4 separate regions of the Homo sapiens genome follow, and all the other regions are linked to region 1. Evidence: promoter capture Hi-C in 16 types of primary human blood cells and fetal thymus (Javierre and others, 2016). All regions are on one chromosome and are shown on one strand. Each heading gives the region's core, a stretch centred on a gene start or on the middle of the fragment in contact. The rest is flanking DNA. Distances are from core to core; before and after follow the strand shown. Region 1 holds the start of DHRS12 (dehydrogenase/reductase 12). Region 2 has its middle 2.6 kb from the start of SPRYD7. Region 3 overlaps DLEU2 (deleted in lymphocytic leukemia 2). Region 4 overlaps DLEU2 (deleted in lymphocytic leukemia 2).

Region 1 (3,326 bases), core at 559-3,058:
AGAATCCAGCTCAGCTGACTCCAGTTAAACGGGAACATTCCCTTGTGAACTCCATACTGCCCTTTGTTTGTGTGTGTGTGTTACTTGGCATCCAGGTGAGAGTGGAAGCTCATTTTGAGACAGGGTTTGGCTTTTCCTAAGACCTCCTCTTTAAATGTATATAATGTATACACTAACTACCTCGTGGATGCTTGATTTGAGGCTAACACTGGACACCTCATGCCCTCATGGAAATTTCTTGAATGTACACTGCATGGCTGTAAGCGCAGGGGAAAAAGGAATGAGAAGAAAACTTAAGGAGGGAAACCAACACTTCTGATCACTTTGTATGAAACTAAGCTCTTTATAATGAATGCCTTTAATCACAACCACCCCACGAGGTGCGCATATTCATTCCCATTTTACATATTAAGAAACCAAGACTGAGGGTGTATGCAGCATGCTCAGGTTCACCTGGCTAATGCAGAGAGCTGGGTTTGCAGCCACACTTTTACTTCAAGGGGCTGCTGACACCCTCCAAGAGACTTGGTGGTTCAAAACTATTTCTCATCCCCTCTCTGCGAGCCAAAAGCCTATTTCCTGAGGTGTTCAGAGAGATTCAGAGCAGATTGACACCTTTTCCATCACTGACACAAAGAGGAGGGTATAAAAAACAGTATGTAGCCCTGGGGATCTAAAATATTTTCCCAGCCAAATCGGACAGGCATTGAAAGTCACACAGGCTGGGGTGGTTTTACAAAATGCCACTTGTTTAAATTTCCTTTCATCACTCTGTCAGGAATAACAGCAACGTAGTGGAGCCTCAGAGTCCTGTTGAGAGGGGCGAGCTGTTCCGGGGAAATTTATTTCAAAAGTTATTCTGAAGTAAAAACTTGCCCACTGTGGAGTGAGGTTGGACAGTGATCCTATATCCTAGGTAATGAGGCTATTAAAGCAGCTGGTCTCTTCAGCTTATGTAAGTGGGGCCCAGTCTCTGGGCGACTTGGGTAAACCGGTATAGAATTTAACAGGGTGACTAGGAGTGACAGCAGCAGTAAGACCCCCATTTCTAATGTGGCGTTAGGGCTGGAGGTTAGATGTGGACAGGGGTGTCTGAGTCCTACATAATGGGGCTGGATGACTAGTCTGAGATCTGGGTTCACGCAGCAACCACACTCTTTTTTACTCACACTGTTCATCTGGGCTTGGGTGGAAAGAGGCTGATGAGGATTTGGGGGAAATCAAGGGGCTCTCCCTGGCATTGCATGAAGTCGCAGAACCAGTGGCAAAAGTCCAACTTTGGAGACAATTACTTCTCGGGTGGGAGCCCCAGCCCTGCCTCTTGCCTGCGATGTCGCCAATCTGACTGCGCTTGCTGGAGACGGGAAATGTGGCACGGCACTGCATCCCCCAACACGTGTAGAAACTTAGAGAATGCCAGTTATTAAAATAACCCTTATGATAACACCAATTCGATGCAGAAGTCTTTTAAATATCATAAGCCTCGTCGTTTTATTCCACATGGTTTTCTAGGTAACCAAATTCTAGGAGGTGCGTTGCAGGGCCATCTTCGCATCCCGGCCATGCCCAGCAGGACGGTGTTCTCTAAACGGCGCTGATGCCCGATTTCGACCCCGAGGAGACTGCGGACCTCGACTGCGGCCCCCACCAGGGCCGGTCCGCCCTCACTCCACCCTCTGAGGCTGGGGCGGAGTCGACCGGCCGGCCCCGAGACCCCTTGCCTTACCGGTGGAGCAAGGAACCGGAAGCCGCGGCTCTTACATAACCGGGATGATGTCAGGGCGGGCGACTCCCGGGGGGCGGGACCAGGGCGGAGGCCGCGCCGGGAGCGCGGTGGGGCTAGGCGTGGGGCGCTCCCGGCATGTCCCTGTACCGCAGCGTCGTGTGGTTCGCCAAGGGGCTGCGCGAGTACACCAAGTAAGGCGGCGCGGCGGGGCGCGGGGCCCCGGGCTGTCACGTGGCCCGCCTCGGCGCGGGCGAGCAGGGTTGGCGGGGACGCGCCCGCGGCTCCTTCGCCCTCTCGCTGGGCCGACTAAGCGTGTCCAGAACGACGGGTGCGCCCGCCGTCTAGCGACCCACGGCTGGGCGTGGGGCAGTCGCCAGACTCCAGCCGCTCAATGCCCGCGACCGAGACTGGCGCCCGAGGGGCGGGGCTGTGGCGCGCCCAAGCCCAGGGCCGTCCCACTGACGTCAGGCGGCCCCGGCGCCAAGGAGCCTCTTGGGCGGCACCTCGGCGCCCCGCTGGGTGTGCTCGTGGAAGTGTCTTCGTGGTGCTGCTGGCGGCGTCAGATAGGGCTGGATCTAAATCGCTAGCTAAGGCTCTGTCCTAGTGCCTTTGGGTGTGTTTCCTTTAAAAAGATGCAGCACCTGGACTGCGACCTTTGGCTCCAGCTGGAACTTTCCAGCCAGTGTGTGCTTCTGGGGAACGGTGCGTGGTGGTTTCGTCGCCCCGTGACCACGCTCAGTGTGCCCTAGTTGGCTCTCCACCTCATTGTGGTTTTAAGAGGTGACAGGTTCCTGTGACGGAGGAGAGATGGAGGTTTTCTCTTAGAATTGATTAGGCTAACCGCTGGTTCTCAACCCTGTCTGCACATCAGAATCACTGGGCGAGAATTAAAAGTACCCAGTTTTCAGGCCCCATCCCTACAGATTCTGATTTAGTGGATCTGCACAGGGGCCTGGACTGGCATTTCATCCAAATGCCCCAGGTGATTCTCACCTCTGAGAGGCTTCTCCCTGCACTGGGGCTTTATCAGTTCCCACGGCAACCTGGCCAGCACTCCTAGGGGAGGTAGGAGTTGCAACTCCCTGCTCTTCACCCCACATCGTTTTGGAGAAGGTTCAGCTCTGTCTCAGGAGCCCCTGCTGCAGAGAATGGTGGGGAGTGTAGTCGTGAGCCCTGTCCCACAGTTTTTAGGGGAATACAGTGGCAGCCTCTTTCTTTCAAAGGGGTGTCCTCTGGCAATGACCATTAATTGCTGGATCTTTCCACATTACACAGCATGAAAGCTTAAGTCAGTTTCCAACCAGGGGTGGGCCCCAAGGAAAGCAGACTGTAAAAATTTCTCCCAGGACTCTTTCGCTCTGATTTCCCCACCTTGAGGGAAGGTAGAAGTGAGGCCAAGGGGCCCAATCCACCACAGATTGGTGGGGGAAGGGAGGGGAGGGGAAGGCAGTTGGCAAAGTTAGATGGGTTTTCCTGCTGTTGTGGATTTAGTGAATAGGAGAGAAAAACAACAACCTTGTTTTGACTTCAGTGTGAGAGCGCGGAGTTAGAGTTTACAACGTTTCTCTTGGCACAAGGATTTTTATAAAGCCTCCCTATA
Region 2 (3,326 bases), core at 315-2,814, 1.9 Mb after region 1:
GCCTGTTAAGGACAAACCTGCAAAATATTAATATTCAAAGGCACCGCTAAGAGAACCAACTAATGGCAGTCTGTTGCAGTTACAAGGTTGACGTTATTTTCCTTATTTATTTTTGGTTGTTCAATCTAGGTAATATAACTTATAATTCAGGAAATCCAGATTAAATGAGCACAATTCATGCCAAGTAAATTTAAATGTCAGTCTCTGAGGAAAGGGGATAGAAGGAGACAAATACAAATTAGGAATGTATATTCATTTTTTATTTTTTTATTTTTTTTTTGAGATAGAGTCTTGCTCTGTCACCCAGGCTGGAGTGCAATGGCACGATCTTGGTTCACTGCAACCTCCGCCTCTGGGTTCAAGCGATTCTCCTGCCTCAGCCTCCCAAGTAGCTGGGATTACAGGCACACACTGCCATGCCCGGCTAATTTTTTTGTTTGTTTTTAGTAGAGACAGGGTTTCACCATGTTGCCCAGGCTGGTTTCGAACTCCTGAGCTCAGGCAGTCCATATCCCTCGGCCTCCCAAAGTGCTGGGATTACAGGCGTGAACCACCGCACCAGACCTAGGAATGTATTTTTAAATGTAACACCCTAGGAGGCAGTTTGCAGAGTGGTTAAGAACACAGACCCTAGAGCCAGAATGTCTGTTTGAATTTAGCTTCATCCTTCATTGACTGTGCAACTTTTGAGTACATTTCTTATTTTTTCTTCAGCTTCCTCATCTGTAAAGTGGAGGATAGTTTTTCCCTCACATGGTTGTTACAAAGACTAAATTAGTTTATTTTTAAAAAACACTTAGAACAGTGCCTGGCAATAATAAGCACTACATAAATGTCAATCACTATTAGTTACTCAAAATTATAATAATGAATTGGTCAAGGCTCCAGAAATATGTCAGTTTTTAGAAAAATGAGTTTTTGTTAATGTTTCTGATTTTTAAAAAGATCACAAATGTGGTTTGGATTAGTCTAAGGAAAAATGTTTTGTTTAATAACTGATTAATGAGTTTTTAAAAACTCATTTCGTATGACCCAGTACAGAATGGGAAATTCACTAACAGAAGACGTCCAGCTGGCATAAAAAACATTAAAGAAAATCTTAAGCATAATGCTAATCTCAACTCTGAAACACAAGCTTTACATTATTGTTCTCAGTTCTCGAGTTCCTGGCATGTCTTGGAAGCAGACAGACTCTTTTTTTGAAGTAGTCATTCTTTCTTATTGCTTATGACTTAGATAAATGACCTTGAGAAACTATTTTTGGCTTTATTTGTGATTGTTATTTAAAGCGATAGCTGTGAAAGAGTGTCAAAACATCTTTAACGTTGTGCTTTTCAAAAAGAGAGGATAATTCCTTTGAAAGTAATAATGAATGGATATTAGAATCCCAGATATTAGAAGGAAAAGTGAGCTCATGGATGGTGTTAATCTGCCAAGACAGGGAAGTCTGTTTCAGGAGCTAACCAGTTTTGCTAACTTCATTCTGCTGAGCACACTCGAGTTGCTAGGATGGGGGCAAAGTGCACCGGGCAGCGCCCCAGCAAATTACTTTTCCAGCTAGGAAAGACTATGGCCCTTCTGCCTCTCTATAGTAATGTCCAATTCACGGCCATTTAGTGTCTGGCTTTTCATTGAAGATGTGACTGACTTGAATGGCCTAAATGTTTATTACATATATAATACATGTACTTCTTTTAATAATATTTCTGAACAAAATTTTTACTTTATAACAACTAATTCTATTATATTTTGTCTATACATGCATTATGGCAGCTTATATCCAATGTGGAGATAAATGAAACACACAAAAAAGGGCAAATCTGCATTTTGAACTGAGAGCATGTTTAAGAGGATTATAGCATTAATTATAAGAGAAAGAATTTGAGAGGCAGTGTTAAAGCAAACTAAATATGGCCTGAGAAGGACTCTGTACTTCTGTATTTGAGTCCTTGTGTACGAACTGTAACCTAGGTTAATAGGCAGACAAGCTTGAAAACCTAATTTAGGAGTATGCACCTGTAACAATAGCTGAGTCTTGGCCAATCCCAGCGGCCATACTTCAACCAGTCATACACTGCTGATTGTTCAAACTGTGTTCAAATAAGGCAAACGCCCCCCTGTAACCAATGCAGCTGTTTCTGTATCTCACTGCTGATTTCTGTACGTCACTTCCCTCTTTTTGTCTAAAAATTTGTTCTGACCACGAGGCATCCCTGGAGTCTCTCTGAATCTGCTGTGATTCTGGGGGCTGCCCAGTCATTCACTGCTCAGTTTAACTCCTTTAAATTTAGTTCAGCTGAAGTTTTTCTTCTAACAGGAATCAGACTGGTAAGCCTTGAATCCTACCTGTTTATCTCCTGCTCACCTGAAGTTGTAAAGTTTAGTACCTCTAGGCCTATTTCTTCACCTATAAAATGGGGACAATACTGACCTTGAAATCTTGAAATAATTCAACTAGATATATATATATGAACGGTAGAAAAATTTTGTCTCTCCAATATTCTGTTAAAATTCTCACCCCCTGCCCCGCCCCCAGCACTTCCCTGGGGTTAAAAAAAAAAAAAAAAAAAAAAATCAAAGCACTTAATTCCCAGCATAACGATGAAGGTTTGTCATAAAAGAAAATTTCTTGTGTGAAATGATTACCAAGAAAGTACTGCATACGCAATGGGGGAAAAGACCAACCCTCAATCAGTTTAATAATCACCTTGGTTATTAAATTCTATGGTAACTTAATTTCAACGTACAAAACTTTCCCTTAGTATTGTAATGAAAACACCATTTATAGAAAGAGAACCAGGAACCTGAAAAATTCCCCTCATTGCATAGATAGAAATCCTCCTTAAAAAACATTTATAACTCGGGTCACTAAAAGTTACGTATGGGAAATCATTATTTAAGTAGTGGGCATTTTATGTCCAGTTTCCCAGGACTTGATGATCCATCCCTAGGGAAGCCTTCAGGATGAAACTGATCTGGGAACAGAGGTTTGAGCTAGGTTAATTCTAGAGGTCGTCCCAGACATTTCCAGATGCCAAGCGGTATCTTTTTTTTTTTTTTTTTTTTTTTGGAGACAGAGTCTCTGTTGCCCAGGCTGGAGGGCAGTGGCGCGATCTAGGCTCACTGTAACCTCCGCCTCCCGGGTTTAAGCGATTCTCGTGCCACAACCTCCTGAGTGGCTGGGATTACAGGCGTGCACCACCGCACCCAGCTAATTTTTGTATTTTTAGTAGAGACGGGGTTTCACCATGTTGGCCATCCTGGTCTTGAACTCCTGACCTCAGGTGATCCGCCCACCTCAGCCTCCCAAAGTGCTGGGATTACAG
Region 3 (3,326 bases), core at 595-3,094, 1.7 Mb after region 1:
AAACTATAATTCTCGACTTTACGAAAAAATATACTTTTAGCCAGAGAACCACGGAAATAGCTACGAAACGTTAGGACGAGAGTTTAGAAAAAAAGTTGGTTTTTAATAGTTTTTTTTCCTCTCAGAAAGGATTTTCGTGTGGTTCTCAAATGTATATTAAAAGTAAAACTGAAGAGGCTGTTTTCGCAAAATTATGTTTCTGCTGGTTGAAATTAACAAGACTTTTATATATTTGTCACTGTTCTTTATTGGTTAAAAACTGAGTGAAAAATTTAGTTTTTTTCCTTTGATAGGAATTTTTCACCTTAAACTACATATATTTGTTGGATGCAGATTACCGGACAGTTGTTTCTTTTATTTTGATGCAAAGAAACTAATTTTCTTAAGGTTCACGAATGATCTTTTTAACATTTTCCATAAAAATTGAACATCTTATTTAAAAAACTTTTCGCATCTAGTGAAAATATACATTTTGCTAATTCAGTAACTGCAGTGAACTAAAACTTTAATTTACAAAACATTTATGTTTCTTAATTTAGACAACAGGTAAGCACAGGTGCGTATCTATTATTTAGTTCCTTTGATAAATTCATTATGAAGAAATATATTGTATACAACAGTGTGGGTGTGCTGTTTTTTATCTGGTTGATTTTCAGTTGATTTTTGTTCGATGTTGCCTGAGACAGCCTCAGTATATTTCCATTTATTACCGAGCTTGTCATTCCATTTAATTGCATCTTGATAAAAGGCAGGTGTCGTTTTCAAAGAACAGCGGCAAACTAACTGATAAACAGCTGTAGATGCTTTGAGAAACAATTGTTTTAATTTAATAGACGTTTATATTCTTTTATGAATAGTAGTTAAATTTTGAAGCTTATAGTGTGTATGTTCGCATTAAGTCAAATACGCATTGTTAAAAAATATTCAAATAAAAAATCTTATGGCTTTTATAAATCTCTGTAGGGCTGTAAATATAATTTACATTAGTAAGTGGAATAGCTGAGTTTATAATTCATACTATTTTGTACTGCCCTCATAACAAGAATTGTGATAACAGATCCCTTTTCATTACCTTTGTTCAAAGCTATTTATTTTGGGTCATCTTATGAAAATTTCATAGAAGGTGCTAATTATCTTCTCTATAAAATTTGATTTAATGAAATTTTAGGAGATCTCATTTCTATTTTAAACGTAATTATACCTAAAGTACCAGAACTCCTGGGTTTTGCTTTTTACTGATGGTTTTTGTTTTGAGTTTTGTATTCTCATTCAAATTACGTGAGTTTTGGGAAGAGTTGGGGGCAAGCTTTAAATTCCACCAGGCTGGTTAAGTATAACCATACATTTTTAGCACTTTGGTTTATGGGATTTTTTGTTTGTTTAGGGGGTAATGGGTAAAGGATTGTTTGTTTAATAAGCCATTTTTAAAAGAAGTGATTCCTTTATTTAAAATACATCACTTCAAATTTGAGAATACACTAGCGCCTAAATAAAATCCACAGCATTCAAAATATTTTCACTTTTATGTGATGCTATATAAGAGGAAGATTTTGGTTTTAGACTTGTGGGCATATAGGTATAAGTTACAACATATGTGTATTTTTTAATGTTTATGTGCACTTATCCATATTTCTCTGTAGAAATTGACAGTTGTAATTTATTTTGTATTACAAAGTCATTTATTACCATAGGAAAGCAACTGCGGGGTGTGGTGTTGCTATAATAGGTCACCCCTTTTTAAAGTTATGTTTACCTATTGTGGGGGAAAGGGGACTGGTAAGGTATCAGTCTTCCTGGTAGCATTGATTTTCATTTGTTTGCCCCCACACTATTTTTAAAAATTCAAATAAAAGTGCAGTTTCAGACTTTTTAAAAAAATACTGTTGACCTGTCTTAGTTGTACATTCAGAAAATGTAGCCTCGGGTGTTTGTATGTAACACTGCATATTTTTTCTAATCAGATTAATATGAGTTTTAATGTTTAGCATGAACTACAGCTAAGGATAAAAATTTTAAAGTAGCTTTCATAGTCTAGATTCCTGGTTTCATCATGCTTTATGTAGTACATTTTCGTTTGTTTTGTTTTGTGGAGACTTGTGTGTATTTTTGTTTGTTTGTTTGTTTATTGGTAGGTAGTAACTATTTGGAATGTCACAGAATACTTAAAGCCAGAAATATGGGTCAGTTGATTTGGTTTACAAAATGAAAAAAAATTCCCAGAGACTGTATTAGATAATTATTATATATGACACATTAGCTTTCTTCAAAAGAAGATGATAAATTTATAGTTTCAAAAAATTATTCTATAAAAATTTCTCTTATTTTAAAATATTACCTAAAATTGGCTCTTGTGTTTTTTTTCTTCTGTCTAATGAAGCTTAAAAATTCACATATTAATTTCTTTTTAACCCCTTTTTAGAAGACACAGATTTTAGGTCTGATTATAACTAGAAAACACATCTTAGAAAAAATTGTCATATATATAGTTTCGTGGGGGTTTTTGGTTTTGTTTTGTTTTTAATTCAGCAAACTTTGAAACATTGTATGCCAGGCAACTAATTTTGGCACATAATTAGAGCTCAACTATGACTTGCTGAAATTTTGTAGCCCCAAATCTCATAACACCAAAGGAAATCAGTAATAAAATACCACTTTATTTCAAATAAGCATTGAAAATGAGATTAAGCATTTAATTTTTGGAAGTGACAGTATTAGAACTTTAATGTCATGATTGTCTTAAGAGTAACAGGATAGATTTTTAGAATATCACATTACTATTATATGTTTATTTATCTCGTAGATCATATAAATATTACTTTCTGGTGGGGAACTGAATGTTTTTTATTTTTTTGCCTCGGTTGGTTTTTTGTTTTTATTTTTTGATCTGTATTAGAGATGCTTTAAAGGATCTTCCTTTTAGAAAGACAAGTTTTAAATATTGAAATTGATATTAAATATATATTTGAATATTATTAATATTTCTTATCAAATTATAAGAAGTTTACTATACCTTTGGTTAATCCTGCCTTATTTCAGTAAAGAAAATTTGTACTGGAATAACTTGTAGTGGTTTCTAAGAATAAATAGTAAGCTCTATTTTGTAATAGATTTTAGATTTGAGTTTTACTATTTGAAGGTTTTTTAATATTGCCTTTTTTATCATACACATTGGTTTATTATTTTATTTATATCCAGACCTCTTTTGCTTCTTATTGGTTAGTATTTTTCATCTCCCTACTATTTAAAAACTTAACATTTGGCATGTAGTACATTTTGTTTTCTACTATTTTCCTTCTATGATTTTTAAACTTAAGATACCTTAATTT
Region 4 (3,326 bases), core at 269-2,768, 1.7 Mb after region 1:
CTAGGTTCAAGTGATTCTCCTGCCTCAGCATCCTGAGCAGCTGGGACTACAAGCACGTGCCACCACGCCTGGCTGATTTTTGTATTTTTAATAGAGAGGGGGTTTCACCGTGTTAGCCAGGATGGTCTCGATCTCCTGACCTTGTGATCCGCCCGCCTCGGCCTCCCAAAGTGTTTGGATTACAGGCGTGAGCCATCACACCTGGTAAAACTGTATCATTTTTTATAACCTAGTCTTAGAAGCCATGCAGCATCATATCCATCACTTCCGTTTGTTAAAAGCAAATTACTAAGGCCATATGTGTTCTGGGGAGGGGAATTAGACTCCACCTTTTAATGGTAGGAGTGTCAATTTGCAACATGTTTAAAATCACCACATGTAACTTCTGATAAATAGATTTATAAACAGTACATTTGTACATTAGAAAAGTTTAAACATAAGAAACCTAATAAATACCCTCTTTTTTATATTAGAATGAAATATAAAAACCCAAACATTTAAATGTTCCAGCAAAGCTAATCCTGAGCCAACTTGAGTAGGCAGTCTGTCTCATAATCTTCCTGCACCTTTCTTCTCCCTGTGTCCATTCCCTCCAGGTCAGGCCTCCTGTGCACACATACCCTTCTCTCCCAAACTAGGTAGGACATTCACAGTAGCTGTACCTCCACGGTGATGAAAACTTTTTTCTTTGCCCTCCATGAGTTATCCCAACTTTGGACCTCATAGGATCGCTGGCAATCAATGGCATAATGTCCTTCTCAAAATTAAAAAGCAAAATGCTATGGAGAATATTCCAGTAAGTAATTTTATAATAATAATTAAAACAAAATGACATTTCCCAAAAGGGACAATATGCTTTTAGATGTTACGATATTGACTTTATTGGGGCTTGTTTATTCATCAAAATCAGTAATTCTAAAGGAACAGTTGAGGCTTTTAAGTATTTTATAAGAGTATGCATGTTTCCTATGAAGGCGACGTAACACTTGATTATTACAATAAAAAAATGGATACTTCTCCCACCTTTATAATGCAGACTGATTTATTTTTATTTTAAACCAGCATATATAATTATTTGTTTGGTAGAGAGACTCAAGAGTTATCGCTCTAAAAAACTGAAAATACTACTTTTCATTGAATAATCAAGGTTAAATAATCTTTTCTTATAACCTAGTATCTTGTAAAATTCTCCCTAAGCTGATATTAACTTATACATCTTTGGTGTTTTTTGTTTTTTTTAAGAAATATTAAATGTGCTTCCTCTATGACTTAGAAATAGAAATAGTGCTTAGGCCATTTTAATAATTTGTACTTTCCTAAAGGCTAATCCCTCTAATTTTGGTAATTTTGCATATTTATATTTATGTTGAGTCAAAATCACACTGTAAGTTCATACTGTAGAATATGAGTTTTTAAATAAGTACGTCCAGATAAGGAGCAAATATATATTTATGAACCCTTTATTTTTTGGTGTATTACTTAATGATGTTTGAAGTAGCTTTTTTAAAAAATAAAATGAAGAAACTATACCTTTGTTTTTAAAGTTTCTCATACAGTAATGATTTAACAACAACAACAAAAAAAGGATGCAGCATTCAGGATAAACTGATAGACTTTGCTATCAGATCTAAACTGTACTTACTTCTCTGTGAGCTCATAGCTACCACGGAGGCAGCCCAAAGGAGCTTAAGTAAACACTAAAATTACATAATGCGGTTCTGAAGGAGCAACAACCCCAACCAAACTGTGCCATATAGTTTCACAGATGCTGTTTTTCTGTATGCCAGAATGCTCTCCTATCTATAGAATGACTTCACAGTAATGATAACGTGAAAGAAAATTGGAAGTGGGCCAGTCTGTCTCCAGACATTTTGAATGAAGGCAGGGTTGAGGAAATTATTTTAAAGTAATTATGCAGTGAGTTTTTTAAAACCTTATAAACTAAGCATTTAGTAGCACTTTGGAAAGTGTAGTGAAACTGGCACATGGAGAAATAAATTCAATACAGAAAATATGATACCAGGATCACATAGCTTAGGGTCTTAAAAAAAGAAAATATGATCTTGCTAGCTAATAGTAATAATGCGGCCGGGCGCGGTGGCTCACGCCTGTAATCCCAGCACTTTGGGAGGCCGAGGCGGGCGGATCACGAGGTCAGGAGATCGAGACCATCCTGGCTAACACGGTGAAACCCCGTCTCTACTAAAAATACAAAAAATTAGCCGGGCGAGGTGGCGGGCGCCTGTAGTCCCAGCTACTCGGGAGGCTGAGGCAGGAGAATGGCGTGAACCCCAGGGGGCGGAGCCTGCAGTGAGCCGAGATTGCGCCACTGCACTCCAGCCTGGGCGACAGCGAGACTCCGTCTCAAAAAAAAAAAAAAAAAAAAAAAAATAGTAATAATGCTCTGTCTACAAATACATTAAGAACTAAATGCAATCTTCTTAAGTAAAAAAACAAAGAATTACAAGTCCTTAAGGTAGTAAAGTTATTCCTATGAATATGTGAGTAAAAATTCAACTTTGCCTAATTAAATTACAGAAAGAGACCCCTCCCCCGTCAGATTGACAAAGATTGAAAATAAGTGCTGATAACCAGTGCCACTAAGAGTGCAATAAAACTTTCAGTCTTGTCTGGGCGAGGTGGCTCACGCCTGTAATCCCAGCACTTTGAGAGGCCGTGGCGGGCGGATCACGAGGACAGGAGTTTGAGACCAGCCTGGCCAACATGGTGAAACTCCATCTGTACTAAAAAAAATATAAAAATTAGCCGGGCAGGGTGGCCTGTGCCTGTAATCCCAGCTACTCGGGAGGCTGAGGCAGGAGAATCACTTGAACCCGGGAGGTGGAGGTTGCAGTGAGCCAAGATCGTGCCACTGCACTGCAGCCTGGGCAACAGAGCAACACTTGGTCTCAAAAGAAAAAAAAAAGAAAAAAAAAACTTTCAGTCTTATCTATTACCTTTCTGGGGTCTTAAAAATGTCCAATTCTTTGACACAGTAGTTGCACTAACAGGAACCAATTTGAAGGAGATAATCAGATATGAAATCACAGATTTATGCATATTCACTAGAGTATCTATACAGAGGAAACAATCTGAATATTCAGCAGTGGGAGAGTGGTTTAATAAACCATGGTGTATCAATCTAACAAAATATGTATCTATTAAAAATACTTAATGACACAAATATTAATGTTTAATATACACTAAGATTTTTAGTTTATAAAACTTTCTCATTTATTTAAAAATGCATAGGAAATGCATATATAATATATATGTAAAATGCATAGGAAAAGGGTGGAAAAAGTACACCAAAATGTACTCTGTGA

The links. Contacts are between HindIII fragments. The CHiCAGO score rates a contact against its expected background, and 5 or more counts as called.
Region 2: a contact is called between a fragment that was not itself captured here and the fragment with the promoter of DHRS12 in region 1, in 2 of 17 cell types (fetal thymus and naive CD8 T cells). The highest score is 6.8, in fetal thymus.
Region 3: a fragment that was not itself captured here is called in contact with the fragment with the promoter of DHRS12 in region 1 in 2 of 17 cell types (naive CD4 T cells and activated CD4 T cells); the score reaches 7.1 in naive CD4 T cells.
Region 4: a fragment that was not itself captured here is called in contact with the fragment with the promoter of DHRS12 in region 1 in 2 of 17 cell types (activated CD4 T cells and neutrophils); the score reaches 5.5 in activated CD4 T cells.

Annotation. Positions count from the first base shown.
Region 1 is chr13:51,802,645-51,805,970 of GRCh38, reverse strand. It overlaps DHRS12 (dehydrogenase/reductase 12), which reads left to right and starts at 1,808. Exons shown (of 9, transcript NM_001377533.1): 1 at 1,808-1,917. It overlaps LOC107984561 (a long non-coding RNA gene), which reads right to left and starts at 2,135. Exons shown (of 2, transcript XR_007063805.1): 1 at 1,170-2,135. RefSeq lists an enhancer at 928-1,057 and a silencer at 1,608-2,247. The HindIII fragment of the contact is 7,862 bases long and covers 1-3,011 here.
Region 2 is chr13:49,937,301-49,940,626 of GRCh38, reverse strand. No RefSeq gene overlaps it. Among named protein-coding and RNA genes, the nearest start is that of SPRYD7, 2.6 kb to the right of the region's middle. RefSeq lists an enhancer at 3,307-3,326. The HindIII fragment of the contact is 853 bases long and covers 1,138-1,990 here.
Region 3 is chr13:50,076,865-50,080,190 of GRCh38, reverse strand. The region is part of intron 1 of DLEU2 (deleted in lymphocytic leukemia 2); the gene reads left to right. Among named protein-coding and RNA genes, the nearest start is that of DLEU1, 3.6 kb to the left of the region's middle. The HindIII fragment of the contact is 1,071 bases long and covers 1,309-2,379 here.
Region 4 is chr13:50,118,210-50,121,535 of GRCh38, reverse strand. All of the region lies in intron 1 of DLEU2 (deleted in lymphocytic leukemia 2), which reads left to right. All of the region lies in intron 2 of DLEU1 (deleted in lymphocytic leukemia 1), which reads right to left. Among named protein-coding and RNA genes, the nearest start is that of DLEU2, 5.7 kb to the left of the region's middle. The HindIII fragment of the contact is 7,720 bases long and covers 1-3,326 here.